Regions from separate parts of the Homo sapiens genome. Here all the other regions are linked to region 1. Evidence: promoter capture Hi-C in 16 types of primary human blood cells and fetal thymus (Javierre and others, 2016). All regions are on one chromosome and are shown on one strand. The core of a region is centred on a gene start or on the middle of the fragment in contact, and the rest is flanking DNA. Distances in the headings are between cores, read along the strand shown.

Evidence for each region. The method cuts DNA at HindIII sites, captures the fragments that hold promoters and counts their contacts. A CHiCAGO score of 5 or more calls a contact.
Region 2: the fragment with the promoter of TEX13B here is called in contact with the fragment with the promoter of MORC4 in region 1 in 1 of 17 cell types (total CD4 T cells); the score reaches 5.1 in total CD4 T cells.
Region 3: a contact is called between a fragment that was not itself captured here and the fragment with the promoter of MORC4 in region 1, in 1 of 17 cell types (total B cells). The highest score is 6.6, in total B cells.
Region 4: a contact is called between a fragment that was not itself captured here and the fragment with the promoter of MORC4 in region 1, in 4 of 17 cell types (total B cells, total CD4 T cells, naive B cells and 1 more). The highest score is 11.6, in total B cells.
Region 5: a contact is called between a fragment that was not itself captured here and the fragment with the promoter of MORC4 in region 1, in 4 of 17 cell types (non-activated CD4 T cells, naive B cells, total B cells and 1 more). The highest score is 7.0, in non-activated CD4 T cells.
Region 6: a fragment that was not itself captured here is called in contact with the fragment with the promoter of MORC4 in region 1 in 5 of 17 cell types (activated CD4 T cells, naive CD8 T cells, naive CD4 T cells and 2 more); the score reaches 7.1 in activated CD4 T cells.
Region 7: a fragment that was not itself captured here is called in contact with the fragment with the promoter of MORC4 in region 1 in 1 of 17 cell types (total B cells); the score reaches 9.7 in total B cells.

Annotation. Positions count from the first base shown.
Region 1 is chrX:106,997,888-107,001,992 of GRCh38, reverse strand. It overlaps MORC4 (MORC family CW-type zinc finger 4), which reads left to right and starts at 1,781. Exons shown (of 17, transcript NM_024657.5): 1 at 1,781-2,125; 2 at 2,244-2,316. The coding sequence starts at 2,024. RefSeq lists silencers at 1,717-1,796, 1,807-2,016. The HindIII fragment of the contact is 4,977 bases long and covers 1-3,827 here.
Region 2 is chrX:107,980,326-107,984,430 of GRCh38, reverse strand. TEX13B (testis expressed 13B) reads left to right here and starts at 2,061. Exons shown (of 3, transcript NM_031273.2): 1 at 2,061-2,121; 2 at 2,272-2,762; 3 at 2,872-3,567. The coding sequence starts at 2,304. The coding sequence ends at 3,351. It also overlaps the pseudogene LOC112267910 and the pseudogene NLRP3P1. The HindIII fragment of the contact is 6,409 bases long and covers 1-4,105 here.
Region 3 is chrX:107,907,868-107,911,972 of GRCh38, reverse strand. All of the region lies in intron 5 of MID2 (midline 2), which reads right to left. All of the region lies in intron 3 of LOC101928335 (a long non-coding RNA gene), which reads left to right. Among named protein-coding and RNA genes, the nearest start is that of TEX13B, 72 kb to the left of the region's middle. The HindIII fragment of the contact is 231 bases long and covers 2,116-2,346 here.
Region 4 is chrX:107,889,787-107,893,891 of GRCh38, reverse strand. The region is part of intron 3 of MID2 (midline 2); the gene reads right to left. Among named protein-coding and RNA genes, the nearest start is that of MID2, 66 kb to the right of the region's middle. The HindIII fragment of the contact is 1,675 bases long and covers 1,444-3,118 here.
Region 5 is chrX:107,861,551-107,865,655 of GRCh38, reverse strand. All of the region lies in intron 3 of MID2 (midline 2), which reads right to left. Among named protein-coding and RNA genes, the nearest start is that of MID2, 38 kb to the right of the region's middle. The HindIII fragment of the contact is 209 bases long and covers 2,004-2,212 here.
Region 6 is chrX:107,838,286-107,842,390 of GRCh38, reverse strand. MID2 (midline 2) reads right to left here. Exons shown (of 10, transcript NM_012216.4): 2 at 1,006-1,721. Among named protein-coding and RNA genes, the nearest start is that of MID2, 14 kb to the right of the region's middle. The HindIII fragment of the contact is 6,166 bases long and covers 1-4,105 here.
Region 7 is chrX:107,794,244-107,798,348 of GRCh38, reverse strand. NCBP2L (nuclear cap binding protein subunit 2 like) reads right to left here. Exons shown (of 2, transcript NM_001348372.2): 2 at 2,520-4,105. The coding sequence ends at 3,667. Among named protein-coding and RNA genes, the nearest start is that of NCBP2L, 19 kb to the right of the region's middle. The HindIII fragment of the contact is 871 bases long and covers 1,477-2,347 here.

The DNA of each region.
Region 1 (4,105 bases), core at 532-3,031:
GATCTGGCTGCTGTTAACAAAGTACCATAGACTAGGTTGCGTATTAACAGCAGATGATCAGGTTCTGGTACGGTCTCTCTTCTGGGTTGCAGAATTCAGACCCTTTCTTGAGTCCTCATGGAAGAAAGAGGATGAGAGAGCTTTCTGGGGTCCTTTTTATGAGGCACTAATCCCATCATGAGGGTTCCACCCTTATGACCTAATTACTTGGCAAAGGCCCCAACTCCTAATCCCAATACCTAATACCATCATATTGGGAGTTAGGATTTCAACATACAAATTTTGGCGGGGCACAAATGTTCAGTCCATTGCAGCAGGTGTGGCAGTCTTGATAATTACTGCATCTGAGTAATAAGTACATGGGATTCATTATATTGTTTTCTGTACTTTTGTGTATTTTAAAAAATTGAAGAAAAGATAACTAAAAAACAGACAAATGTAAAGCACCCAATGGGGGTAAAAAATGATGCTCAAAGGACATAAACAGGCATTTGTAGAAGAGGAGATGCAAATGTATACTAAACATTTGAAAAGATATTCAGCCTTACTGGTAGTCAGGAAAATGCAAATTAAAACAATAAGGAGATACTATTTTTTATTGAAAAGACTATCAAAAAGTTAAAAGATTGGGACCATCTAGTGCTATGAACATGACAAAAGAGCACTGATTGTTGCTGGGAGGGCAAATTGCCTATCTTACAGTATTTATTAAGATTAAACCATGCACATGCTATTAGATGCAGCAGTCTCATCTTTTGGAATTCATTCTGTGGAGATAACAGTATCAGAAATTAATGACCTGTACACGAGTGTGTGAAGGAGCATTTTTTGTATTGTCAAAATTAAAAAAAGAGGACAACCTAAATTACCATAAAGGAATGGTCAAATAAATTATAGTTCATTCATGCCATAGAACATTACATATGTTTTTAATGAATCTGTTTTTCTATTATCAGTGTATATTTATAGTATATTAGAAAACACAGGTAAGAAAAAAGGAAAAAGTGTCTAGTTCCAGACCCAGAGATATCATCTTGGTGTATATCAAGTGGTTTTCGTTGTGTGTGTGTGTGTGTATATATATATGTATGTATGTATGTGTATATGTGTGTATGCATGCATATATATATATGTATATATGTATACATATATATTTGTTTTTCCAATAGAAAAGGCATCATGCGTTCCACAATATGTTGTAACTCCTTGTTTTCTTCATTCCTTCATGAATATTTTTCTACATCAACACATACTTATCTACAAACATGGCCTTCAAGAACTGGATGGTATTTCATTTTATGCATACTTCATAACTCGACCAATCCCCTACTTGGCGGTATTTAAGTGAATCCAATTTCTCCTTTTAGAAACACCGTCCCTGCATGCTAGCAAGACTTTGGAGATAGTTTGCTAATTGCCTTCCAGAAAGTTCTGGGTGCTTCTGGAGGCATTTGAGGCAGAGTAGGTAGAATGTTTTCCCATCAGGCGAGCTTGCTATCTTCCCAGATAGCAACACTGTAGTCTTTAGAACTTGAAAGACTTGTCTTATCTTGCCTGTTAGTCATGCAGCCTAAGCGGGACTAGGTTCCAGAAATCCCATACATGCTCTCCCTCCTCTTGCTTCATTCACGCCCCTCCCCACGCGCCACCCCCGCCCCCCGCGCTTTCCCGCTCGGCGGCCTGGCCTATGGCATACGCCAATAATTAATTAGGGGCGGGGATCAAGGAGCGGCTGTCAGGAGGTCGCCATATTTCTGTACGGCCCAGAGGCAGCCCGGGCAGTCGCCGGGTCGGTAGAGGTGCTGACAGGGCGGAGCCGCCGCTTGCCTCAGCCGGCCTCACCCCTCCCGCCCGGGACAGGTGGCTGGAGCGCGCTCCGCCTCCGCCAGCTGCGAGTGGGAGCGAGGGAGGGCCGGTCCCGGACGGTCGCCGCCAGCTGCGAGTGGAAGTGAGCGAGGGCTAGTCCCGGACCGCCGGGCCAGGGGTCCGGCGGCAGCAGACGGGTACCGTGGCGGCCAAAAAAATGCTCCTGTACCGAGGGGCCCCCGCCGGCCCTGGCGCGCCGGGCTGCGGGCTGGCCCGGCCCGGCGGCGGCCCGCAGGCCTTCGGGATCCGCCTGAGCACGGTAGGTCCGGGGCCCGAGGGGGCGGACGCGCGCGCGGGCCCCTGGGCTGCGGGGGGCGCGCGGGGAGGGCCCGGCGGGCCGAGGCCTCACGCGGGTCGGGACCTTCTCTCGCCCCCAGATGAGCCCCCGCTACCTCCAGAGCAACTCCAGCAGCCACACGCGACCCTTCAGTGCCATCGCGGAGCTGCTAGGTGAGTGGCGAGGGCGGGCCCGGCCGTGTTCGCCCGAGGCAGTGGTGCCAGCGTGGTGCCGCGGACGCGAGAGGAATGCGCAGAGCCGCGCGGGGCGGGCCGGGGCTGGGGTGGGGGCCTCGGAACCGGCCCCGGCTCCGCAGGCGGAGGAGGGGGATGGCTCTCTCGCCAGGAACTAGGTTCCGCTCATAAAACGGAGGAAACGAGGTGTGTCTGAAGCGTTAAAGACACCAGTGTGGTTTTTCTCTCGCGCTCGTGACGTTCGGGCACTTTAGGATAGCTTAGTTAGTAATCAAAAGGAGATGCATAAAAACCTCGGGCCCTGAGGCAGCTGGGTCCGCAGGGGCTGGCGACCGACGGAGGATGCCTAGCTAGCAAAGGGGCGTAGAGGACCGAGGCGGGTCCTGGGGAAAGGTCTGGAAAGCGGAGTTCCTTAACTTTTGAGACAAGAAAAGTTAGGAATGATGGGACATCTCTTAAGAGATGACACGAGTGCATTTGGCTCCCTGCTACTGCGGAGGGCTGGGTCCGTGGTCCACGAGCGCCCTCACACCGCTGGAATGAATATTGAGGACTTAACCTCTCGCTCCACCGGTGTTTGCTTTTAAAGTGTTTTCAGTTGATCCCTTCAAGCCAATTACACCAGTTTTTGCAGTAGTGTGCTACTGTGTGGAAAGCAAAGAAGAAACGCAGTCCTGCACAAAACGCAGCAGCATACAGGGCGCATTATACATGCTTTGAAAATCGAAAGAAGGAAGAAGTGTTTATGGGCAAGGTTGCACAGAACAAACTCTTGAAAATGTTTTCAAAGCTCCCCAAATGAACCCCGGTCTCTACTTAAGCAGTCGCTGTGGCCATGCCATGAGAGTTATCTTGGGTAAGAAGTCAATGGGTAGCAGGGGACTTACTTGGAAGGGTGATAAGAATGATAGAGACCTTTGATGATTAACCATAACACGGAATGCTTTACAATATGTGTAATTTAATTAGAAGGTGAAAGGCAAAAAGTGGAATTGATACGTTTGGAACCCTAGAGCAGAGGGACTGTATCTTTGAGGTTTGGTACTGTGCCTTGGGGCTGTGCACTGAACCTCTGCAGAATGGAATACAATCCAAGTTAAGTATGTAATTTACAAGAAAGACTACAAGGGAGCAAAAAGTAGTGATTTACATAGTGGGGGATGGGAAAGCGAAATGTATTGTTCTCTCATGGTTGGCACGGTGCAGAACGTGATATACCTGTGCTGTGCTTACTGTACTTTCCAGGTGATTTAATGAGTTTCCAATTTGTAATTTTGGATATTTGTGATTTTGGCCATAAGCATTACCTTAAAGAACCTAAGCCGGATCTAAGACGTCCAGTATGAGCGCGAGTATGTGTATGTATTATGCACACACATGCATGCATACATGTATACAAACATAGATTTTAAGACCAAATAACAACTATTTGTGAAAATATTAATAATAGGGAAAAGAGAGAGCAAAGTGTTAACTGGCAATCCAAAGCTTTCATTTTAGGTTTTCCTTCAATCATTTTCTCCACTTAAGCATTAATTTTCTAGTGAATCATTCATTTGGTAAATATTTATTGAGCACCCACTGTGCGCAAGGCCACTGTGGTAGGCACAAAAATGAATACAACACAGATTCACTCTTCTAGTAGGGGAGATAAAACATGTACAGAAGGTTTATGCTTTGTCTAACAACAAAATGGAAATCGATATATAAACAAAGATAAAAACAAGTGCTGTGGGAGTTCAGAGGAAGGAGGAATGGCTTCCAGTTT
Region 2 (4,105 bases), core at 812-3,311, 980 kb before region 1:
AATAATTAATATATTGGGTGCTTACCACTGTGCTAGATGCTGAAAACACAAAGATAATTAAGACACAGACTAAACCCTCCAGGAATCCCCAGTTGATGGAGAAAAATGACGAGAAAATCACAGATTACAATACAGTGTGAAAAGTACCGTCAGACATATGCACAAGTTGTTATGGGGACACAAAAAGGTTGCACAATTCAGCCTAGCTTGAGGTGGGGTCTGGAGAATCAGGAAATACAAGAGGAAGAAATGTTTGAGCACTGTCATGAAAAGGGAATAGAAACTGTATAGGAGTTAGGTGAATGAAAAGAATGGGAGTGGAGAGAGCAGGAGGGGATGAGGAGAAATCCGTGCATGCACAGAGGAGCCTGTGCAAGGGCCACAGAGGAAGAGAGAAGATGCTTCGTTTGAAAAACTAAAAATTACTTGCTATGGCCTATCTAAAAGACTATATAACTATTAAGAGGGATTATCACCCAGGTTGAAGGAAGGGTAGGATTATAGAAGTACTTTCCAAGCACTTAAAAATTATTTACAATGATCAGCTGTTACTGGGAGAAACATTTTTTTTCAATTTTGAAAAACATAACACGTTTATTATAAACAATTTTACAATAGAGAAAAATGTCAAGAATATTTTTTAAAGTACTGTATTCCTATTACCCAAAGATAACCACTGTTAAAGTGTTAGTATATAACTTTCCAGATTTGTGATGTATGCATACATATAGTTAGTTATATGCTCTTTGTAACAAGCGAAATTAGAGAAAAATGTATTTTAAAGTTAAAAACTTTTTTTCTAACCTCCAGTCCAACCCCACTTCCCAGAGATAATTAATGTTGAGTCTGCTATATATCCTCTCTCATTCTGTTCTCCAAGATTATAGAAACATACAAACATATGCAAACACACACATACACACAAATACGGGATCATAGAAAACATTACTCCTACAACTTTACATGCCCTTTTGTCATTGGCCATCATCATAGATCCATAGGTAGAAACAGATTCAGTTACAGTACAATGTCATGTAATACGTAGCAACGCTGGACTCAACCTGAGATTTGTCTGATTTATCTTGTGGGTCTCAGAAAGTCATTCAAGGTTTTCTTGTTTTTGTGTTTGTTTGTTTGAGACAGAGTCTCACTCTGTCACCCAGGCTACAGTGCAGTGGTGCGATCTCGGCTCACTGCAACCTCCGCCTCGTGGGTTCAAGCGATTCTCCTGCCTCAGCCTCCCGAGTAGCTGGGACTACATGCGCGTGCCACCACATCTGGCTAATTTTTTGTAATTTTAGTAGAGACGGGGTTTCACCCTGTTAGCCAGGATGGTCTCGATCTTCTGACCTCGTGATCCGCCCATCTCGGTCTCCCAAAGTACTGGGATTACAGGCATGAGCCACCGCGCCCGGCCGAAGGTTTTAAGAGACATATTCATATCCCTCTGATGGAAGATCTCTGATATTTCATGTTTTGGTAAAAAGGTGTATTTATGCTACTCCTAACTCTCTTTCTCCCACAGTTGCTTCAAGATTCAAGGCGTTTCAGTAGGGGAGGAGTGGGAGAAGGGGTGATGGGAGGAGTGTGGGGAAAGAGGAGCTAAGGGAGGAAAGGCAGGCCAGGATTTGTTAGGGTGTCTGGGATGTTTAGTCCTGAGCAAACAGGGGATAAGCTCCGCTCCTGGCTCCACCCTCTTCCTCCAAGGGCAACTGAGGGGTTGGGGCTGTTTCCTGCTCTAGAATATTCCAGTTGGGGGCGAAACTCCCCTGGCATGGCACAAACCATTATGATGGGGAGGGATAAGTCTTCAACTTGTTCACAAATACTTTTTTTGGTCCTAAGTCCTTCCGGACCACTCCTGTTTCTTTCAGCCTTCAAGGTCTCCCGACCATGTGGCAGGTTCCCTTTTGTCCCAGTGGAATGGCAGAGGCCTTCCTCACTCACTCCCTTTCACCCCTACAGTCTCTGGAAATTGGAACAGTCCCAGAGTAAAATCCTCATGGGTTGGCCCTGAGGCTTCTTTTCCCGCAGAGCCCTAGGAGGGAAAGAGGCCACCCTCTCTTCAGGCGTGTTAAGCAGCGGGGTTGGCCTGTACTTCCTCTGGCCCTGGCTGAAGAGGTGAGGCCTGGTGGGAGATGTCCTAGGGTAGGACAAGCCGGTCAGAGGGTCATTAGGAGGGTCTTGTCAGAGGTGGGAGGGCGGAGAAGACAGATGAGGGGAGGGGCTAAGGAGGAGGAAAGAAACCTATTGGCTGCTCCATCCACACAGGGCTAGTGAAACCGTTAAGCCCCTAGGCGATCATGGCCTTGAGACCTGAGGACCCCAGTAGTGGGTTCCGGCACGGAAACGTGGTGGCCTTCATCATCGAGAAAATGGCCAGGCACACGAAAGGCCCCGAGTTCTACTTCGAGAATATATCCTTATCCTGGGAGGAGGTGGAAGACAAGCTCAGGGCCATCCTGGAGGACAGCGAGGTGCCCAGCGAGGTCAAAGAGGCCTGCACCTGGGGCAGCCTGGCCTTGGGTGTGCGCTTTGCCCACAGGCAGGGGCAGTTACAAAACCGCAGGGTGCAGTGGCTGCAAGGCTTTGCCAAACTGCACAGATCAGCTGCGCTGGTCTTGGCCTCAAACCTGACGGAACTCAAGGAACAGCAGGAGATGGAATGCAATGAGGCGACCTTCCAGTTGCAGCTAACCGAGACCAGCCTTGCGGAGGTGCAGAGAGAGCGGGACATGCTGAGATGGAAGCTCTTCCATGCCGTAAGATCCCCCGAATGGTCCCTGTCCAATGCCTCTGCCCTGCCCCAACCTGTCCGGACCCCCTGCCCTGTCCCCAGAATGTGTTTCAGCTCTGCCTACTTCTCTCCAGGAGCTGGCACCTCCCCAGGGACAGGGCCAGGCTACAGTGTTTCCAGGCCTGGCCACTGCCGGAGGGGATTGGACAGAAGGAGCAGGTGAGCAGGAAAAGGAGGCGGTGGCTGCTGCTGGTGCTGCTGGAGGAAAAGGAGAGGAGAGGTATGCAGAGGCAGGGCCTGCCCCCGCAGAGGTCTTGCAGGGGCTGGGAGGAGGCTTCAGGCAGCCCCTCGGAGCTATTGTAGCAGGCAAATTACACCTTTGCGGGGCAGAGGGAGAAAGATCTCAGGTCAGTACAAACAGCCATGTCTGTCTTCTCTGGGCTTGGGTCCACAGTCTCACTGGAGCCTCTTCCTGTCCAGCTCCCTACCTCATTCACATACTCATACCCATGCCCTTTGTCCGCCTTCTCAGCCATACCCAATATACCCCCTTCACCAGCAAAGGTCACAGAACGGGTTCCAACTCAGATGCCTTTCAACTGGGGGGCCTCTGATGCTAGCCTGTGGTCAGATGTGGAGGCCCAGGGAATAGACCCTCAAGAGCCCCCAAGAGACAGGAGAGACTCCGAACTCCATCAGCAGAGAAGACCTCCAGTATATCGCAGGCCAGGGAACTGGGACTGCCCGTGGTGTAAAGCTGTGAATTTTTCATGGAGGGAAAATTGCTTCCTCTGTGGGAGGCGAATCTGGCTGCAAAAGCCTCAGTAAATTCAGAAATGTAAAATAGAACAGAAATATATCTCAATGGGAAATCAATCTTCAGGGGGAGAGGGGAGAGGTGGGAGGGGGATTGGGTGGAGTGGGGGAAAGGGGATGAGTGGGAAGATTGGACAGTAGGGGGGCGGGGAGGCGGGGTTGTGGGTGGGAGGATGTAGATGACAGGCAGGGAGAGACATGTTTTAATGACTCCATTTGTATTTCAGAGTATTAGTAGTCAACACTCCAGAACTACTGCAGTTTTTATTTGTGTGTGTGTCTCTAGCTCCCTATCTTAAGTATCTGTCGGACCTGGGCAGTATGTAACACCTACACTCTCTCCCTTCATGTAGGCTTTAGATAATTGGAGCAGGAGTGGATATTTGACCAATCCTGAGCCAAATGAATTTTTACGTTAGAAAATCTGAACAGACAGGCAGATTCCACAGTCAGAATAGTGTTGGGCAATGAAGCAGTGGGTCACTTGGAGTTGGGGCCAGGGTCACAGCCATGGACACCAAGGCCATAGCTGAGGCCTGGCCCTGGCTGTGG
Region 3 (4,105 bases), core at 982-3,481, 910 kb before region 1:
TTTGACATTATACTAAAAGCAGTCTTAAAACTCTCAGCTCCTTTTCCCTCCTTGGCTCCCAGAATGCTGGCAGCCAGGCTTATACCTTCCACACCGCTGCCCCTCCAATCAAAAGCAGGAGATTGGAGGATTTCATCCAAGGGAAACTGACCCAAGAGAAAAGACCTACAGAACTGACACTTGGGAGTCCATCAATAAAAAGCCAGCATTCCGCCTTATAATCCTATAGCAAAGTTCACCAACCCATAAATTATTCCCATCCACTCAGAGTTTCCAGTCATCTTTTAGTGCTTAAACTCAAACACACAGCCAGTAGTTTGCCAGATATTTAGGAAAAGACAGCAATTTAAACTAACAGAGAAAAGGAACTGGGAGGAAACCCAGACAATGCAGGGTTTAGAAGCAAACTTTTAAAAATGACAATATTCTCAAGAAGAAAACCAAATAGTTCGTATCCACAAAGCAAAAACAGAATGCTAAAAAAGAAACAAGGTGAAGGATGAGCTCTTGTGAATAAAATTAGGAATGCTGAAATTAAAATTTCAATAGAAGGATTTAATGAAAAATTAAGGAAGTATCTTAGTAAAATAAGAAGACAAAGTCATGGAAAATGGAAAAGATAAAATTAGAGAAAAAAAGTCTAGGATGTCCAACAGTTCACTAATCAAAGTCCCATAAACAAAGAAGAGAAAGAATAAAGGGGAGGAAATTATTAGCAAATAATACAAGAACATTTCCCAGAGCTAGAGGTCACCAGTCTTTAGATTAGAAAGATTCACTGAGTGCCCAGGAAAAATGAATGACAAAAAGTCCACAACGCGCCAGACACGGTGGCTCACACCTGTAATCTCAGCACTTTGGGAGGCCAAGGTGGGCAGATCACTGGAGATCAGGAGTTCGAGACCACCCTGGCCAACATGGTGAAACCACATCTCTACTAAAAATACCAAAATTAGCCGGGCGTAATGGCGTGAGCCTGTAGTCCCAGCTACCAGGGAGGCTGAGGCAGAAGAATCACTTGAATCTGGGAGGCAGAGATTGCAGTGAGCTGAGATCGTGCCACTGCACTCCAGCCTGGGCAACAGAACAAGAAGAAAGAAAGAAGGAAAGAGAGAGAGAGGGAGAAAGAGAGAGGGAAAGGAAAGGAAAGGAAAGGAAAGGAAAGGAAAGGAAAGGAAAGGAAAGGAAAGGAAAGGAAAGGAAAATCTATAACAGAGGCAAATCTTGATGAAATTTCAGAAAAACTGGGTTAAAGATAAGATCTTTAAAACTTCTAGATCGTAATGGCTATTATTAAAAGGAGGAAGGATAAGTGCTGGTGAGGATGTAGAGAAAAGGGAACCCTTATACATTGTTGGTGGGAATATAAATTAGTACAGCCATTATAAAAAACAGTATGGAGGTTCCTCAAAAAACTAAAAATAGAACTACTGTAGGATCCAGCAATCCCACTAGTCAGTATATATCCAAAGAAGTTGAAATCAATATGTCAAAGAAATATCTGCATTCCCATGTTCACTGAAGCATTATTCAGAATAGCCAAGATATGGTATCTACCTAAGTTTCTATCAATGGATGAATGGATAAAGAAAATGTGGTATAGATACATAATGTAATACCTTTCAGCCACTGAAGTTGGAGGAAATCCTGTTATCCTTGACAGCATAAATGAACCTGGAGGATGTATGCTAAGTAAAATAAGCCAGGCACAGAAAGACAAATACCATATGATCTCGCACATAGGTGGAATCTGAAAAAATCAAACTCATAGAAATAGAGAGTAGAATGGTGGTTACTAGAGGCTGGTATGAGGAGGGAATGGGGAGTTGTTGGACAAAGGGTATAAAGTTTCAGTTAGACAGGAGGAATAAGTTTCTGAGATCTGTTGTGCAGCAGTGTGAATATAATCAATAATAACATATTGTATGTTTCAAAATAGCTAAAAGAGTAAATCTCAATGGCTGACCACAAAAAATGGTGAGGTAATGGATATGTTAATTGGCTTTGATTAGTCATTCCACATTGTATGCATATATGAAAACATCACATTGCAACCCATTAATGTATACAACTATGATTTGTCAATTAAAAGTAATATTAACTTTTGTTTAAGCTTCTGGATTTTAAAACATAGGTTATATTCAAAAGATCTGGATTCAAAACGGCAGTGAACGTCTCAACACAATAATGGAAGCCAGGAGACAATGAAGTCATGCCTTCAAAATTTATTTCCAACCTATCAAGTGTGAAAATTAACTTGAAATATTTTTAGGCAAAAAGTTCTTGAAAATTTACTTCCCATGTACTCTTTCTTAAGAAACTACAGGAGCGTTTGTTTGAAAAGCTTAAGGGAATCAAGTGGTACAGGAAGGGGAAATCCAGGCAGAGCCCAATGAGTTCCCTAAAATTAAGGAGACAGAGCTGAGAATCCAAGTGGACGAAGTTGGCTGGAGTTCACAGGACATAGTACCAGAGAGGAAAAAGCTGCAGAGAGAATTCTAGAGACCTTCAGAGTTTCCCTCTAGTAGTCAACAGAATACTGATCAACAAATGCATGCGAGGAAACTGCATAATGCTGGGGAAAGAGCCACCCAAAAAGATAAGAGGGAACAATCCCTGGTACTCACATAGGTCTAGCAATAGTGTGTGTTCCTACCAGCTAAACTGGAAAATCTCATGACTCACAGGACACTGGAATAGAGTACTCAGAAGGGTTTTGCCTCAGTAGTGGAGAAAAATTGTCTCTAGACTAAACATTGCTCTGATCTCACCTATCAAATCTGAAAACCAAGACTTGAAAGGATCAAGCTGTTTTCAAGTAACTTAACTGTGTCTCAGAACAAAGTTTAAGAATATTTATAGGAATACAAAAATATACAGCATCCCGAAAGAGAAAATTAACAAGTCTGATATCCAGTAAAAAATTACCTGATAGGCAAAAAATCAAGAAAATACAATCCATAATGAGAAGAAAAGGCAACCAATTGAAACGGACCCAGATATGACACAGGTATTAGAATTAGCAAGCAAGGACATAAAAGCAATTATTTTAACTGTATTCCATATGTTCAGAAAGCTAGAGGAAAGGCTAAATATCTTTTTTTGTTTTCAGAGACAAGACATTGTCCTGTTGCCCAGGCTGGAGTGCAGTGGCAGCATCGTGACCCACTGTACCCTTGAACTCCTGGGCTCAGAAGATCCTCTTGCTTCAGCCTCCCAAGTAGCTAGGACTACAGGCACATGTCACCAGATGCAGGCTTTTTTTTTTTTTTTTTTAGATGGAATCTCGCTATGTTGCCCAGGCTGGTCTCAAGTGATCTTCCCACCTCAGCCTCCCAGAGTGCTGTGATTAAAGGTGTGAGCCACCACACCCAGCCTGAATATCTTGAGATATGGAAGACATTTTTTAAAAGACCCAAATCAAACTAGAGATGAAAGTTATAATATCTAAGATAAAAAATACACTGGAGGGGTTAACAGCAGATTAGGTATCACAGAAGAAAAGGCTAGTGAACTTGAAGATATATCAATAGAAGCTATCCAAAATGAAACACACTTGCATGTGTTTTCACAATGGCAAAAAAATAAAAAGACTGCAAAACAAAAATAGAGCATTGGTAAGCTATAGGACAATTTCAGACAGCCAAATATACATGTAATTGGAATCCCGAATAGAGAGGAAGGAAGTGGCATAAAAATATTTGTAGAAGTAGTGGCAGAAAAAAAGTCCAAATTTGCAGAAGTTAATTGATACTGTCTAAAGTTGAAAAAAATTAAAACTACCAATGTAAGGATGTTATTTAGAAATGTAAGGTCATGCCAATAAAAACATCTGATAGAGCTGAAATTGCTTGGCTTTGTTGTAAAAGTGTAGACTGTGGCACTAGACTCCCTAAATTTGAATCTTGCCTGTGCCCCTTACTAGTTGGACAATTGTAAGCAAGTTATTTAACCTCTCTGAACATCGTTCTCTCATTTATAAAATGGGGATAAAAGTAGTATCTACCTCATAAAGTTTTTTTGAGGATTAAGTGAGTTAATACTTATGAAGGCTTAAAATAATGCCCAGTACAAAGTAAGAACTCTATTGATAATGGTATTATCA
Region 4 (4,105 bases), core at 1,032-3,531, 890 kb before region 1:
ATTTTTGGAATGAATGAACAGCATATAAAGTACAGATGGCAAAAGGACATCATTAGATGTGCTAGTACTTTATATTATTTTCAACTTTCAGAATAACTCTTCAAAGTACATACTATCATCCTATTTTTTAGATGAATAAAATGAGGTTCAGTGTACGCAGCTTATAAAACAGAGCCAGACAGACTCAAGTCTATCACTTTTCTTTCCACTTACTGTCTCCCAGTGAGCATATTACTATTAATAAGTCAACTCATATTCTGCTTAAAAGGACTTGGAAAAGTGCTTCACAATATTGACATTCCTCCAAAAACAAGATAAAATATATCTACTTAATCGTTCCTTTTTAAAAGTTTTAAATTGACTTGTTTATTTTCATGTTAAAAATAGAATCAACTAAAAAGTTAACATAATGGTATATTCTCAAATCAGCTACCCGATTTCTTTAAGTAATAATGAGACATATACATGCCTTTTCAAGACAGGTTAAAGAATCAAATAGCAGACTGTTAACCTGAGATATTAACAAAATAAAAACATTCTAGTAATATTTCAGCTAATAAGCAAAATTCATAGTTTCATAGTCTAGCAGTAAAAAGAAGCACTGACAAAGACTGTGTTTTTTACACGAAGTGAGAAGATCTGTGTAATACTACATTATAGGATCAAAAGGACATTAACTGTTTTACTGTTTTATAATGTTTATGGGAGATATTTCAATAATAGCACTGTTTTTCAGAAAGCCGTAAGAACATGAAAGATTATAGACAGACATCACTCTTACCATGGAGGATACACCCAATTCTTGAAGCAGTCAACACTCATTTATGTGGATACATTACAGGTCATTTCATATTACCATTGAACAAATTTTACTGTTATTATGTGCTAGGCATTTTAGTAAGCACTTAGCAATACACGAGATAGATAAGGCCTCTGCCATCATCTCGTGAATCTTATAATGAGCAGGGAAGCAGATACTGAGCAGTTACCTGTTTGAGGAGTGCTACAAAAGAGGTTTATCACGTAAAAAGGATAATCTTTGGGTGCTTATAAGATGGGGATTTAACCAACAGTTGTCAAGTGGGGAGCTTAGATGGTCAAGGAAGGCTTCCTAAGGATGTGATATTTTTAAGGAATGAATGAGAGTTAGCTAGAGGAAGGGGAGATTCACAGCAGAGAAGACGAAGACAGCAAAAAGGTCTGGGAGACCATGCTAGAGAGGTAGGTAGGGGCCAGATCATAATGGGTTTTAAAGGCAGTGGGGGAACCATTAAAGGGTTTGTGGTAGGGAGTGACATGACAGGTTTTGCATTTTACAAGTTCATTTCCACAGCAATGTGGAAAATGGATAGGAGGGGAACAGGATGGGCCAGAGAGACCAGTTAGAAACTGCAGTTTCCAAAATGATTGTGGCATGGCCATGGCTGCTACCTTCAGGAAGCTTCTAGTCCAACCAAGGAAACAGCCTGTAACCAAGAAATTCCTTCATGGAAGAGCAAGCAGTCTAATAGAGGTTTGCACAGGCTGTTCCACCCAAGTTCATGTGACTAGTGGGTGACAGAGCCAGCAGCAGAACCCAGGTTTCCTGATTTCTAGTCTAGGGCTTTTTCCAAGGCCATCCTTTTCACTGCCTTCACAACCAAGGAATTATGGAAAGGGAGGAGAACAAAGCAAGCCAGTGAATGTTTCCGCCTTCTTAAGTCTCAGATCAGATTGTGGGGAGCATTTAGCCACTCTCTGTACTCAAGTCTGACATAAGCACTCCTCCCAAGACATTTGTTTCTGAGGGATGGATTCACCATCGTGATACTCCCTGTATATATACAGAGCAAGGAATTTCTACTGGGAGGGCCAGGGAAATTTGAACTCTCATAGCTAAGGTCGAAAAGGGCATTGTTATGAGAAAGAGGTCATTCTTTCTGAGACAGGGAACTCTGGATGACAAAAGGGAAAAAATCTGATTCCAGGCAGACAGAAAACAGTCTGATTCCAGCCCAACAGAAGAAGCAAGGGCCCAAGTAGAAGAGTGAAAATAGCTGAAGAAGAGCCTATGTTGCTTCTAAGCTGAGGGAGTAGAGAAATAGGAAGTACCAGGAAAGAGCCTGAAAGACAAGGACCAGAGGAATTCTGTTTGTAAGCATCAGAGGGAAGGGAAGCCTCAGAATAATAACCAACGCTGAACTCTGTGACTGGGCAACAAAGAGGTCTTGAGAACATATTTCCAGAGGTCTCAACTACCTTGTGAGTCAAGAAATAAACAAAGGGGTTTCTACGGGGAAAACCCCAAGGGGGTCAGAGGCCCTGATTAGGATGGGCTGGGCGCAGTGGTTCACACCTGTAATCCCAGCACTTTGGGAGGCTAAGGCGGGCAGATCACTTGAGGTCTGTTTTAGGCTCAGCCTGACCAACATGGTGAAACCCTATCTTTATTAAAAATACAAAAAATAGCCAGGCATGGTGGCGCATGCCTGTAATCTCAGCTACTCGGGAGTCTGAGGCAGGAGAATCACTTGAACCTGAGAGGCGGAGGTTGCAATGAGCTGAGATTGCGCCACTGCATTCCAGCCTGGGTGACAAGGTGAGACTCTTTCTCAAAAAAAAAAAAAAAAAAAGGTATAAAACAAACAGGAGGATGGAGCCAAGATGGCCGAATAGGAACAGCTCCAGTCTACAGCTCCCAGCGTGTGTGACGCAGAAGACGGGTGATTTCTGCATTTCCAACTGAGGTACTGGGTTCATCTCACTGGGGAGTCTCAGAAAGAGGGTGCAGGACAGTGGGTGCAGCGCACCGAGCGTGAGCCGAAGCAGGGTGAGGCATCGCCTCACCCAGGAAGCTCAAGGGGTCAGGGAATTCCCTTTCCTAGTCAAAGAAACGGGTGAGAGACAGCACCTGGAAAACTGGGTCACTCCCACCCTAACACTGTGCTTTTCCAATGGTCTTAGCAAACGGCACACCAGATTATATCCTGCGCCTGGCTCAGAGGGACCTAATCCCACAGAGCCTCGCTAATTGCTAGCACAGCACTCTGAGATCAAACTGCAAGGTGGCAGCAAGGCTGGGGGAGGGGCACCCACCATTGCCGAGGCTTGAGTAGGTAAACAAAGCAGCTGGGAAGCTTGAACTGGGTGGAGCCCACCGCAGCTCAAGGAGGCCTGCCTGCCTCTGTAGACTCCATCTCTGGGGGCAGGGCATAGCCAAACAAAAGGCAGCAGAAAACTCTGCAGACTTAAATGTCCCTGTCTGACAGCTTTGAAGAGAGGAGTGGTTCTCCCAGCACACAGCTGGAGATCTGAGAACAGACAGACTGCCTCTTCAAGTGGATCCCTAACCCCCGAGTAGCCTAACTGGGAGGCACCCCCCAGTAGGGGCAGACTGATACCTCACAAGGCCGGGTACTCCTCTGAGACAAAACTTCCAGAGGAAAGATCAGGCAGCAACATCTGCTGTTCACCAATATCCACTGTTCTGCAGCCTCTGCTGCTGATACCCAGGCAAACAGGGTCTGGAGTGGACCTCCCACAAACTCCAACAGGCCTGCAGCTAAGGGTCCTGACTGTAAGAAGGAAAACTAATAAACAGAAAGGACATCCACACCAAAACCCCATCTGTACGTCACCATCATCAAAGACAAAAGGAAGATAAAACCACAAAGATAGGGAAAAAACAGAGCAGAAAAACTGGAAACTCTAAAAATCAGAGCGCCTTTCCTCCTCCAAAGGAACGCAGCTCCTCACCAGCAACAGAACAAAGCTGGATGGAGAAAGAATTTGATGAGTTGAGAGAAGAAAGCTTCAGATGATCAAACTACTCCGAGCTAAAGGAGGAAGTTCGAATCCAAGGCAAAGAAGTTAAAAACCTTGAAAAAAAATTACATGAATGGCTAACTAGAATAACCAATGCAGAGAAGTCCTTAAAGGACCTGATGGAGCTGAAAACCATGGCACGAGAACTATGTGATGAATGCACAAGCCTCAGTAGCTGATTCGATCAACTGGAAGAAAGGGTGTCAGTGATGGAAGATGAAATGAATGAAATGAAGTGAGAAGAGAAGTTTAGAGAAAAAAGAAAAAAAAGAAATGAACGAAGCCTCCAAAAAATATGAGA
Region 5 (4,105 bases), core at 859-3,358, 860 kb before region 1:
AAGAAAACAAAAGGCAACATCCTCCAGTTGTGTCCCAGTTTCTCCCCTTATATGGGGAAAACATCAAAGGACTGAAAAGAACCCTTTGGGGTGGGCGGGGAGGGAAACAGGTCAAAGCAATCCTCATGACCCAGTTTAAACACTAATTCTCTCACTGGGCATATATCCTTTTTTCCACATATATCCTCTTTACACATACAACCCCCTCCCCAGACACACATAAGAGATGAACAGCCAGGCACAGCCATCTATGAAATAGATAGACAGATGCATAGCACGTGCAGAGGCATTATGATGCATGCTCTGGAGAGATTATCATCACAAAGAAAGGCTTGCCCAAATATTGCTCTAGTATCACACCACATCATTCCCACATGGGCACACGCTCACATAATACTGGTTTTCTGGTTTTCTGTCCTTACCCAGACCATAAGCACAATAATCAGCGACTTGCAAAACACTGCACATGGAGCCATGGGTTGTTAGTTTTGCCCATCTTTTTTAATACAGCATAGTCATTAAGAGCAAGGACCTCAGTAAAATTGGATGCAAACTCTTAATTTGCCACCTGTGATTTTATACAAATAAGTTACCCCTGTGTGCTTCAGTTACCCCATCTGTAAAATGAGAATGAGAATCATATGTACTTCATTGGGTTATTGTGTGGATTAAATGAGCTAATGTATTTAAAGCTCTTAGGAATAATTAAGAGTTCTTAGGACTGGCTGAGATAGGGTAAACTTGGATTCAAGATTTGATTTAGGTGAGAGGAGAGGTAGTGAGAATAGACAGAGGCATTGGATTCTCTTTCTGTCTTGAGGTAGTAAATAGCTGATTTCCTGGCTGTATGTGTACTTCTAAGTAATCATTCCATCAAAAGACACCATTAATAATAGCAATGCATTCACTCTTTTTTGAGGAAATCTATATATTTGCAGTCATTGTGGTATTATATTTGTTATTTATATCCTGTTTTAAATGTGCAAACATTAATTATACTTTTGAGAGTACATCTTTACTGTCAAACTCTTAGTAACTGTTAAGAAACCCTGTGTCTCATGGAGACTACTTTTACCCTGAAACATGGTCATGTACAGCCCTAGAATGAGGACCCATCCCGGCAGTCTCAGCAAGAAAATATGGGTCCCAGCGTAAACTCTATGGCTGAGGACAGTGTTGATACCTGGAGCTGCCCACACTATTTCCACCCCTCATGGCACAAAAATAATCTGAGCAAGTAAATGCCTAATTGTGGGTATTATTGCTTCCTTCTGCCAACTCTAGGCAACTCCCTCTCCTCTGTACCCCATGAAGGGCTGTCAGAATATGGAGAGCTGCTCTGGGCTATTAAAGGTAGGCCAATGGCAGGAGTACATAAGAGGCTTACCACAGATTCAGGAACGCCAGGCCCCCAAACAGACCATATGTTTTTCTAGAGCTAGAGCTATTTAGTGGAGAAAAACAAAGGGTTTTCTGGAGCTGCCTCCTACCTATCTGAGCACAAATGAATCGGTGGCAAGTAAACCAACAACTTCTCCACTAGGCTGCACAATGCAATGGAAAGAACATAGACTTTGGAGTGAGAGAAATGTAGAACTGCATCCCAGCTTACTTATGTGTGACCTTGAGTAAGGCATCTAATATCTCTGGCCTTCAAGTTCCTCACTTGAAAAATGGGAATATTAACCAGCTGTATCACAGGATTGTCATAAACACTAAGTGAGATTAGAAATGATGTCTCTAGCACAGTGCCCAGAACAAATTATTCAAGTAAGATTCTCTTCCTCCCAATCCTTGCTTACCGTACCACAGAGCTGGACTCCTCTAGACAGGCAGAGACAGTAAGGACATCTCAATGGCTGTGTGCCTATCTGCTGTGGTGATAGTTGTTTTGGTTTCAAGTCTGGGTTTTTAAAACATTTGTTTAGTTTTAGTTGGGTTGATGGCAGGAGAGATTAGAGGTAAAAGTGGAACTAGAAACATTTCAAGGTATAGGATAAGCTTGATAGAGCCTTAGCTGAATTATTAAGATTCCATTAACTTTCCAAGAGCACACTGGAAATGGGGAATTTGGGTGGATTGTGAAAATAGTGGAGCAAACAAGAGGAGCCAAAATTAAGCAAGTCTTCTGGTCATTTAGTGAGTGACCTGGAATTTGAACACAGAAATGAGAACTAGAGGAGGGATGGGAAACGGGACTGTAAGATAAGCTTCACTGTGCCAAAGGAAAAGTGCAAAAGTGGGATGAAAGTGCATTCCTATGTGAACTGTTTCGGCTATGAAGACATGACCACACCTGAAAGCTTACCTGCCCTATAGATGTGAGGGAGGAGGGCGAGGAAAACAATATTAATCCTAACTAATTTTATCCTTAAACCCTGTCATGTGTTAATACCCTCCAAGTATTTCAACTGCAACATTTAATGTCTTCAAAAATGTTACTTTACTGACATAAATGAAGAATTGTCACAAAGTATTTTTTAAAAAGGATTGAATGCATTAGGTCTCTGAAAAATTATAAAGCACTTTCTTTTCTAGTATAAAAATAGGCTATGACCACACACTGGATTGCACAGTTAACTTAGGTTTTTCATCTATATTAAATGTCAATCGTTATATTCTTAATAAGATTGAATGTAATACTCTGAATTAGTCACTACAGTAGTATAAATGAATAGATTGACTGGATCACTGAACTTATTTTCCATTTTTCATGGAAACAATTTTCTCCATCTATAATTCCACAGTGGTTTCAAACTAGGTATTTCATTTTCACAAGACACTAGCAGTTCAAATCTTTCTCAGGAGCTCTTAAGTCTGCTCCCCTTGCTCTTCCATCTCTAACAAAAATATTCACAGAACATTTTTGCTAATAAACATTTTAAATCGCAAATACAAAATTATAGAACTCTCTCTTTTTAAAATTACTAGAGATGAAAGCATGTGACCCTCCCTAAAACTTTTCTTTTGGCTTTGCTTAAAGGCAGTAATCAAGAAGAATTTGGGCAGGATAATGGGCAAATTTACTTAAGTATCAACACGAAGAATCTTTTGGATATTCTTGCAGAAGGGCAGTAAATGTTTCCTTACTAAATAAAATTTGTTTAAATTAGTAACTGCAAACTAGCAGCTTATTGAGCACAATAACCCTTTTTAGTCTATCACATCTGCAGAGTTACTGGTGGGCTAGGTGGAGTCACATGGCCAAGGTACCCAATATTTTTGCTGCTGCAATTTCATTACCACTCCCTCTTCCCAAGAAAAGTTTTAGTTGATATATGTAAAATTTGAAATTGGTTATGAGTATTTGGGAATGATTGTTCTCCCCACTCTCAGAGATAGTGATAAAAAGCTTTGGAAGTCCTGAGGTCAGGGCTAGGAATCTCTGGCAAAATGTGTAGTGCCCAAAATTACTACTACTAGTACTACTGCTACTAGCAACTGTTCCTGCTATTACACCTCCTCTTCCTCTTTCTCCTTCTTTCCCTCCTCCTCCTCCTCCTGCTACTATGACTAGTATTACCACCACCACCGTTTATTGAGCTTTGACTATATATGCCAGGCACAGTAGCAGGTACTTTACATGTATTGCCTTTCTCTTCAATGTATTATTAGTCCAAGTTTTATAGATGGTGAAACTGAGGCTCAGAAAAAGTATGTGTTCAAGGTTGCACAGCTAACATGACTCCTGTCTGTCCAACTCCAAAGCTGTCACAGCACACTGCCTCCCAGGACGTACATACCATTTTTAGGACAGGCAAGTTGTAGAAACTAAGGCTACAGTGTCCTGGGTTGGAGATAAAGCTGGACACCAAGTCAGGGAGGGAAGGGAAGCATATGTGGATGAACGCAGTGGATCTAGTGATTCCTACTGTTAACTCACCAGTAGCAGAATAATACACAAACAGAGCATTTATGAGTCTGACTTTTCTGCTCTTCGAAAGGATAATAACTACCACCTTATTTCTTGCTTCACCTTCGTGATCAAACTTCTTGCAACCTGCATTTCCTTTTGTTTGTTTGTTTGTCTGTTTTGAGACAGAGTTTCCCTCTTGTCGTCCAGGCTGGAGGGCAATGGCACGATCTCGGCTCACTGCAACCTCCA
Region 6 (4,105 bases), core at 924-3,423, 840 kb before region 1:
TAGAATATCTGCTAAGTAGCTCCCTTCTTAAGAGAAATTATACAACATAGCAGACAAGCAATGGGAATAAAACAATTCGCTGGATCATCAGTGTAAGGTAGGAGGACTTTTTATGGGCACTTAGACTTGTACATACATATTATATGACACAACAACTTTAGAAAACTCTGTCCATTGAATACACATAAATGACTAGGAACTTGTAAGGCAGGAACTATAAACAAATGCTTCAGTTTGTAGCCCATAATAGTGAGCACTGTCACAAAATTTGATACTGGATAAAATATTTATTGCCTTCAGTTTAAATTGTTCATTCAGATATTTAATTATCCCTCCCAATTTCGTGGTATACTGAAGTTTCTTCAGTTCTTTGTTTTGTTTTGTTTTGTTTTGTTTTTAAAGGCAGGCTTAGAATTAGCCCTATGTTAAAGGCTTAATGGCAATTTGTAATGGCCAATGCCAAACTTTTGTTTCTTTAGTGTATTGAGTACACAAACACAAACATACAATAATGTCCTCCACAAAAATCTCTCACCTACCTAGATACACTCAGCCACCTCCACCCACACCTACACAGAGACACACCCTGCCTTCCCATTGCCATATACCTACATATGCAAATCGACACATATGCTAATTGTAGTACACGTACACAAGTACTCACATACTTAAAAGAAGAGGTGGAAAGATCATAGCAAAGATATATAATAAGCAATATGTCACTGACAGAAGATAGAGGGTGTGTTTCCCTGGATGAACTACTGGTGTTGCAGGCCATGAGCTGACTCCCCAAAAGTTAGCCAGAAGTGTGTGACTGCAAGAATGTTTATGCAACAGATGAGATAGGCTCCAGGAAGAGCTTGCAGGAGAGCAGGTTATTCCTCATGAGAACAACTTAAAGTTAACTCACTTGTCATATAGGAAAAGTCACCTATTTTATTAGAGAACTTGCTAACTGCATTTATGCGACAAAGTTGTATAGGGGATGCTCCCCAGATCCCTTACCTTGAGTTTCTCAAATCGATCATTCAGGGATGCGACCTGATGGTCTCGGTGACGACCCACCAGTTTGCATAAGGCACAGATCAATTGGTCATCAGATACACAGTACATGTTCACTTTCTCATTCTCATGGTCCAGGCAGGTGATCCCTCGAAGATGTGTGTCTGGCACTGGTTCCACCAGGCGGTGGCTGGTGAAAGGTTTCTTGTTGGGGTGCGTGGCCCGCAGGCAACGGTCACAGTAGGAGACCTCACAGGTGATGCATGTTTTTACTGCATCCCTTGGCGGGTCCTGCTCACAGAATTGGCAAGCAATTCGCTCGCTAGACATGGCAGTGGTGGGCCTGTAAGTCCTTTCCCGGCGGCTCTCACTAGGGGAATTGGGCCCACTGACTGAAGCCTTCTGGAAGCGATCAATAATGTTCTGCAGAGTCACATTCCTCTTGAGGCCATCCAGGCCCCGGTGGTTCAGCGAGATAACATACCTGCAGGTAGGACACTGGAAAGCAGTAATGGGTTCAATGGATTCACCAGAGCTGCAGCTTGATACCAAAATGCGATGGGCACAGCTGAAGCAGAGGCTGTGAGCACAAGGGAGCAGAAGGGGGTCTTCAAACAACTCTAGGCAGATTGGACAGGTCAATTCAGACTCCAGTGTTTCCATCTTTAGTGAAAATAGTCCTCCTGAGGCATTAAGAACCACGGAGGCTGGGCTTTCACCTGCAAGGAATACAAAGCAAGAGTCATTAGGCATTTCCAAAGGAAAATGGATATAACACAATTATACACTAACCAATGGGCGCGTTTACGTGCTGGATTCCCCAGAGATGCTTAAGCAATAGAAAAGCAATTTGGGAACTAATCAGGAAGACTTTCTTCCCCTTCAAACCTTGTTTTAGACAAATGCCTATGTTTATTTTCATGCACAAATAGATAAAACCAAATGGCCACCTCTGAATCCTGATAGACTGATTAACATTACCATTCCAGCTCACAATATTTGCATGGATCATTCTCTCACATATTCTCCACTGACATCTCTTTTCCTAGACTAAGATAAGGCTGAGACCCTGCAAAATTCCCAATCTCTATTCTCCAATATTGTTCTCTATTTCACTTCAAGGTAAACTGTAGGGCTGCTTCTATGTGACATCCAGTGTAAGGAAAACAATGCCATATTTTAAAGTAACTCTCTACTTCCTGAAATGATTCCATTCTGAAAGCCTGCATAAAAAAGAGAGAGCTTTAGAAAAATGTAGCCCTTGGTGCAGGATAATAAGTTTTTCCTCAGAGTGTGAACTTGAATTACTTCTTATTATCACACATGGAAATTTCCGTTCCATTCTATTCCTAGTAAACTGAGTTACTTGAGATAAAAGATGATAGTTTTCACTTTCATCTTCTTCCCTCACCTTCAGAAACCCCTTCAGTTCATCAAGCTGAATGGGGAATGATTTCAAACTTTTCAACCTACTCAGCAATAGTTGCTGATCAATAATAAAGTCATATTGCCTTGTGGCTTCAGTTTGGTTTCATTACTAAACACCTGCTGAACTAGCACAAGCCAGCTATGAAGCTCACCTCCCATGTGTCTTTTCATACTTTCTAAAACATAACAGGATGCAAATCAATATCTAGATAGAAATTAGCAAAGTTCCAGAAATTTTAAGATCTGGTAACCTTCAATTTAGTGAGCATCAGTGAGTAAAAGAGGTCACCCGGCCGGGCACAGTGGCTCACGCCTGTAATCCCAGCACTTTGGGAGGCCAAGGTGGGTGGATCACGAGGTTAGGAGGTCCAGACCTTCCTGGCCAATATGGTGAAACCCTGTCTCTACTAAAAATGCAAAAATTAGCTGGGCGTGGTGGCGCTTGCCTGTGGTCCCAGCTACTCGGGAGGCTGAACCAGAAGTATCGCTTGAACCTGGGAGGTGGAGGTTGCAGTAAGCCGAGATCATGCCACTGCACTCTTGCCTGGGTGACAGAGTGAGACTGCCAAAAAAAAAAAAAACAAACAAAACAAACAAAAAAAGCCACCCAACTGACAAGAAACCAACCTCTTGGTAACTCTATCTATTTTTCCACAGGCATTTCTGTGCTGAACACACAGGTACCTAATTCTTAATTGCCTAGAGTCTTCCATTAATTAAAATACACACACATAAATATTCTAAGTTGTCTTTAACTAAGGAAAAATATAAAACATATCTTACTGACTGAAAATGTTAATCCTATGTATAGGAAAGAAAAAGGGCATCTTTCTTGCTTTTTTTTTTAACAAGGTGTCCCTCTGTCATTCAGGGTGGAGTGCAGTGGTACAATCTTGGCTAACTGCAACGTCCACCTCCTGGGCTCAAGCGATCCTCCTGCTTCAGCCTCCTGGGCTCCGCCTCCTGGAACTCCAGGGGTATGCCACCAAGCCCAGCTAATTTTTGTTTATATTTTTTGTAGAGACGTGGTTTTGCCATGTTGCCCAGGCTGATCTTGAACTCCTGGGCTCAAGCAATCTGCCCACCACAGCCTCCCAAAGTGCTGGGATTACAGGAGTGAGCCACAGAGCCAAGCCCAAGAAAAGCATTGTTTGCTTTTGAGTAGCTTTTGTTTATTATCTTGTCATCATTGGAGACTCTCATCAGAGCTTGAAAATTTTGCTCTGCCATTGGTATTTGTTCAGATATTGTCACAGGATACATAAGTACTGAGTACAATTATACTTTATGCCTAAGTACAATAGATGTACACCTAAAAGCTGTTTCTAAATCAAACCTTTTAAATGCACTGAACTAACTACCTATTTAATGAAAATCTATATGAAATGAGGTTATAAAAGTGAAGAATCTTTTTGTAAATCAGTCACTCAGTTGGTTTAGTAGATTCAGATGTTTGTACAGCCAGTTTTTTTAAGTGAGACAAGGTATTTTTCTTTTAGAATTTACAGGTGCTTGAAAGTTGTTGGCCAGTATTTTGTAGCTTATAACATCTATCAACGTTCACCCATACAGATGAAAAAGTAAACAATTAAAATGTACATACATCATTGAATCTTAGAATTGGAAGAGACTTTTGAGAGATGAAGATTCCAACTTCCACTGACAGCAGGAATAT
Region 7 (4,105 bases), core at 663-3,162, 800 kb before region 1:
AGAAACAGCAGAGGAAACAGAAGGGAAGAAACTACAAATAAGTGATACAAGGCTTTAAGATTTAATGACTGTCTTACTGGGTTTCAGGCTTGCATGGGGCCGGTAGGCCCTTTGTTTTGGCCAATTTCTTCCATTTTGAATGGGAGCATTTATCCGATGCCTGTACCCACATTGTATCTTGGAGGTAATTAACTTTTTTTTTTTTTTTTTTTTTTTTTACAGGCTCATAGGTAGAAGGGACTTATCTTGTCTCAGATGAGATTTTGGACTGTGGACTTTTGAGTTAATACTGAAGTGAGTTAAGACTGGGGGACTATTCAGAAAGGATGATTGTATTTTGCAATGTGAGAAGGACATGAGATTTGGGAGGAGCCAGGAGTGGAATGACATGGTTTGGATTTGTGTCCTGTCCAAATCTCATGTCTAATTGGAGGAGAGGACTGGTTGGAGGTGACTGGATCATGGGGGTGGATTTCCCCCATGCTGTTCTTGTGATAGTGAGTTATCCTGAGATCTGATGGTTTAAAAGTGTGTGGCACTTCCCCCTTTGCTCTCTCACTCTCTCTCCTGCCCACCATGGTAAGATGTGCTTACTTCCCCTTCACCTTCTGCCATGATTGTAAGTTTCGTGAGGACTCTCAGTCATGCCTCCTGTTAAGCCTATAGAACTGTGAGTCAATTAAACCTTTTTGCTTCATAAATTACCCAGTCTCAGGTAGTTCTTTACAGCAGTGTGAAAATGGACTAATATAGAAGTAAATCACAAAAGGGATAAACACAGGATCCATGAAATAGTCAGTCCAATTCAGGACTATAGTGAAGAAAAATCTCTGGATGGAAACTGTTGTCTAGGGAGTGGTTTGCAGCCAGTTGTGATTTTGCCTCCCCACTGGCCTGCCAGAAACAACTGGTAATGTCTGGAGACATTTTTGGTTGTCACAAGTTGAAGTGTGTGTGCGCGCACAAATGCGTGCTACTGTATTTAATGGGTATATGAGGCCAAGGATACTGAATTCTACAATGCACTACACAGCCTTCCACAACAAATAATTCTCTGGTCCAAAACATCAGTAGGGCTGAGATTGAGAAATCCTGGTCTAGAGAGTAACAAATCCAAACTGGAATAGGAGGACAGACAGACCATGGAGAGGAAAGTAGAATTGTCGGGTGCAGTGGCTGACGCCTGTAATCCCAGCACTTTGGGAGGCCAAGGCGGGTGGATCAGGAGGTCAGGAGTTTGAGACCAGCCTGGCCAATATGGTGAAACCCCGTCTCTACTAAAAAAAATACAAAAATGAGCTGCGTGTGGTGGCACACACCTGTAGTCCCAGCTACTCGGGAGGCTGAGGCAGGAGAATCGCTTGAACCCAGGAGACAGAGTTTGCAGTGAGCCAAGATTGTGCCACTGAACTCCAGCCTGGGCGACAGAGTGAGACTTCAAAAAAGAAAAAAGTAGGAGAATATCCATGGAAAGCTTAATTTTTTACAGAGTTTGAAGGAAATTAAGGGGTGCAATAAAGGCAAATATAAGAAAGAGAGAATGGTAAATAAAAATTCCAGCAGAAAAGATATAGATGTTGGACTCTCCCTGGCTTTGCAAGGAACTTTATTTATTTATTTATTTACTTATTTTTGAAATAGGGTCTCACTCTGCCACCCAGGCTGGAGTGCAGTGGAACAATCTCAGTTCACTGCGACCTCCGCCTCCTGGGCTCAGGAGGGATCACTATCCTACCATCTCAGCCTCCTGAGTAGCTGGGACCACGGGCACATGCCACCATGCCCAGCAATTTTTGTATTTTTGGCAAAGACAGGGTTTCACCATGTTGCCCTGGCCAGTCTTGAACTCCTGACCTCAAGTGATCTGCCTACCTCAGTCTCCCAAAATTCTGGGATTACAAGCATAAGCCACTGCGCCTGACCAGGGAACAATATTTATATAGTCACAGTAATAAAATACTCTTTACTAATTGTAAACTTTTGGAATTAACTGAAAGACAGAGCACGGACAACTTTATCAAGTTTGACAATGTAAAAACAGAAATATAGATGAAAAAAGCTAGAAAGTAGAAGGGGGAGGAAGAAAGATGAAGAAAAGGCAAAAGGACATTAACATCTTCATCTTACAAAGTGGGAAGTACTATATGGTGGAGCAAAACAAAAATGGGGTTATATTTGTATATATTAAAGTTATAGGAGAACCTGTAGTAAACTGTATAACTCATCACTAATATTCAGGATCTCTTCCTACAGATCCTTCTCCACTCCCTCAGAATCAGTTTTGACAACATGTTTTGAGAATGGAAATGTGAGCAAAAGTGACGGATATCATTTCTGGGTGGAAGCTTGAGGAGCCAGGACATGATTTGTCACTCTGTTTTTCCCTCTGTCATCATCATTCCAGATAGTGGGTATACTATTAGCCTAGGCCCCAGAAGGAGGACAATCATGGCATGGAGCAGACCCCGGCACCATGTAATCAGCAATGGGAATGTAGTGGGAGGAACAGAACTTAGTAATTTTAAGCACTAAAATTTTTCGATTTTTTATTACTGCAGTATAACCTAAGTTATGCTATGTAACAGTAAAGAAAGTAAGTACAGATGCTCATTGACTTATGATGGGGTTACATCCTAATAAGCTTATTGTATATATTAAGTTGAAAATGCATTTAATACATCTAACCTCTCAAATATAGCATAGCACAACCTATCTTAAACATTTTACATTAGCCTACACTTGGGCAAAATCATCTAACCCAAAGCCTATTTTATAATAAAGTGTTAAGTATCTCATGCAATTTGTTGAATACTATACTGAAAGTCAAAAACGAAATAGTTGTATGGGTACCTGAAGCATGGTTTCTACTGAATGCACATCACTTTTATACCATTGTAAAGTCCAAACATTGTAAGCCAAGCCATTGTAACTCAGGAACCCTCTGTAAAGTGTTGTGAACTATATTGAGAGGATGGAGAGTAGAGAAGTGCAAATGGGGGTGTAAGTGAGCTAAATCCTCATCTCTGAAAGTAGGAAGTCAGTACGTAGCGTTTAAAAAGAAAGTAAGTAGTCATGTTATTTGGAGATATGGAGGAAACTACCAAGAAACAAACAAACCAAAAACTAATAAAAATAATTAAGCGTTATCGTCCAGGGAATAGGCGTAGGATAGGAAGAGGTGGGGCAGGAGGATTTTTGTTTTTATTACAAATTCTTCCAGACTTTTCTATGGTTTCAAATAATAGTGCTTGTGTTTCTCTTGATAACTTTTTAAAATTTCCACTTATTTGACTGTATTTTATGCAAGCTCTAAAAAAAATTATAATTTTGGGCTGCAGGAACATGGCCATAGAATCCAACAGAAATCTTCTTAAAAGGGAAGTTGTGCTTTGGTTGACTCTGATCTTACATACCTAATTTGTTCCCGAAGAACACTTCACTTTGGACCACCTAACAGTCAAACTGGTAATCTGAAAAGCATCTTCAAAATTCAGACAAAAACAAATGGATTTTTTTTGTTTCTGCTATTTAACAAATTTTCAGAGAAAAAAATACATCAACAAGTAAGGTAATTTAAACTTGGAATTGGCTATTTGCAGACTTGAGGTTGGTCTATAACACACTTTTCAAGGGGTTAGAGTTAAAACTTTTTCTCTATGGATTGTTCTAGATCTGAGTCTGTCTTCCAAAGCCTCCTCTACCAGAATGAAAATCTTCACGAAACTCATCCCTTACCTGACCCCCAGATTTACCGCGACCATACTGTTGACCCTCTCTAAAACCGACATCCCAATCAGTGCAGATAATCCATTCATCTAGGCAGGTCCCAGTTAGAAACCGCATGGCATTTTCAGCATCAGCTCTGTTATGGCATTCTACAAAGCAAAAACCACATGCTGTTTTCTTTATTTTATCCAGGCCCATAAAGATATTCCTGATATCAGATCTACTAAAGAGTTCATGTATTTTCTCTTCGGTTGTATAAAAGGAAAGATTCCCCATATTCAATGTGGAGCTTTCCTTCAGTAATTTTTCCTGCTGAAATTTACGGCCACTGAACTGATGGTCCCGGTAGCAGCTCAGCTCCAAAGCAGGGTCTTTACAT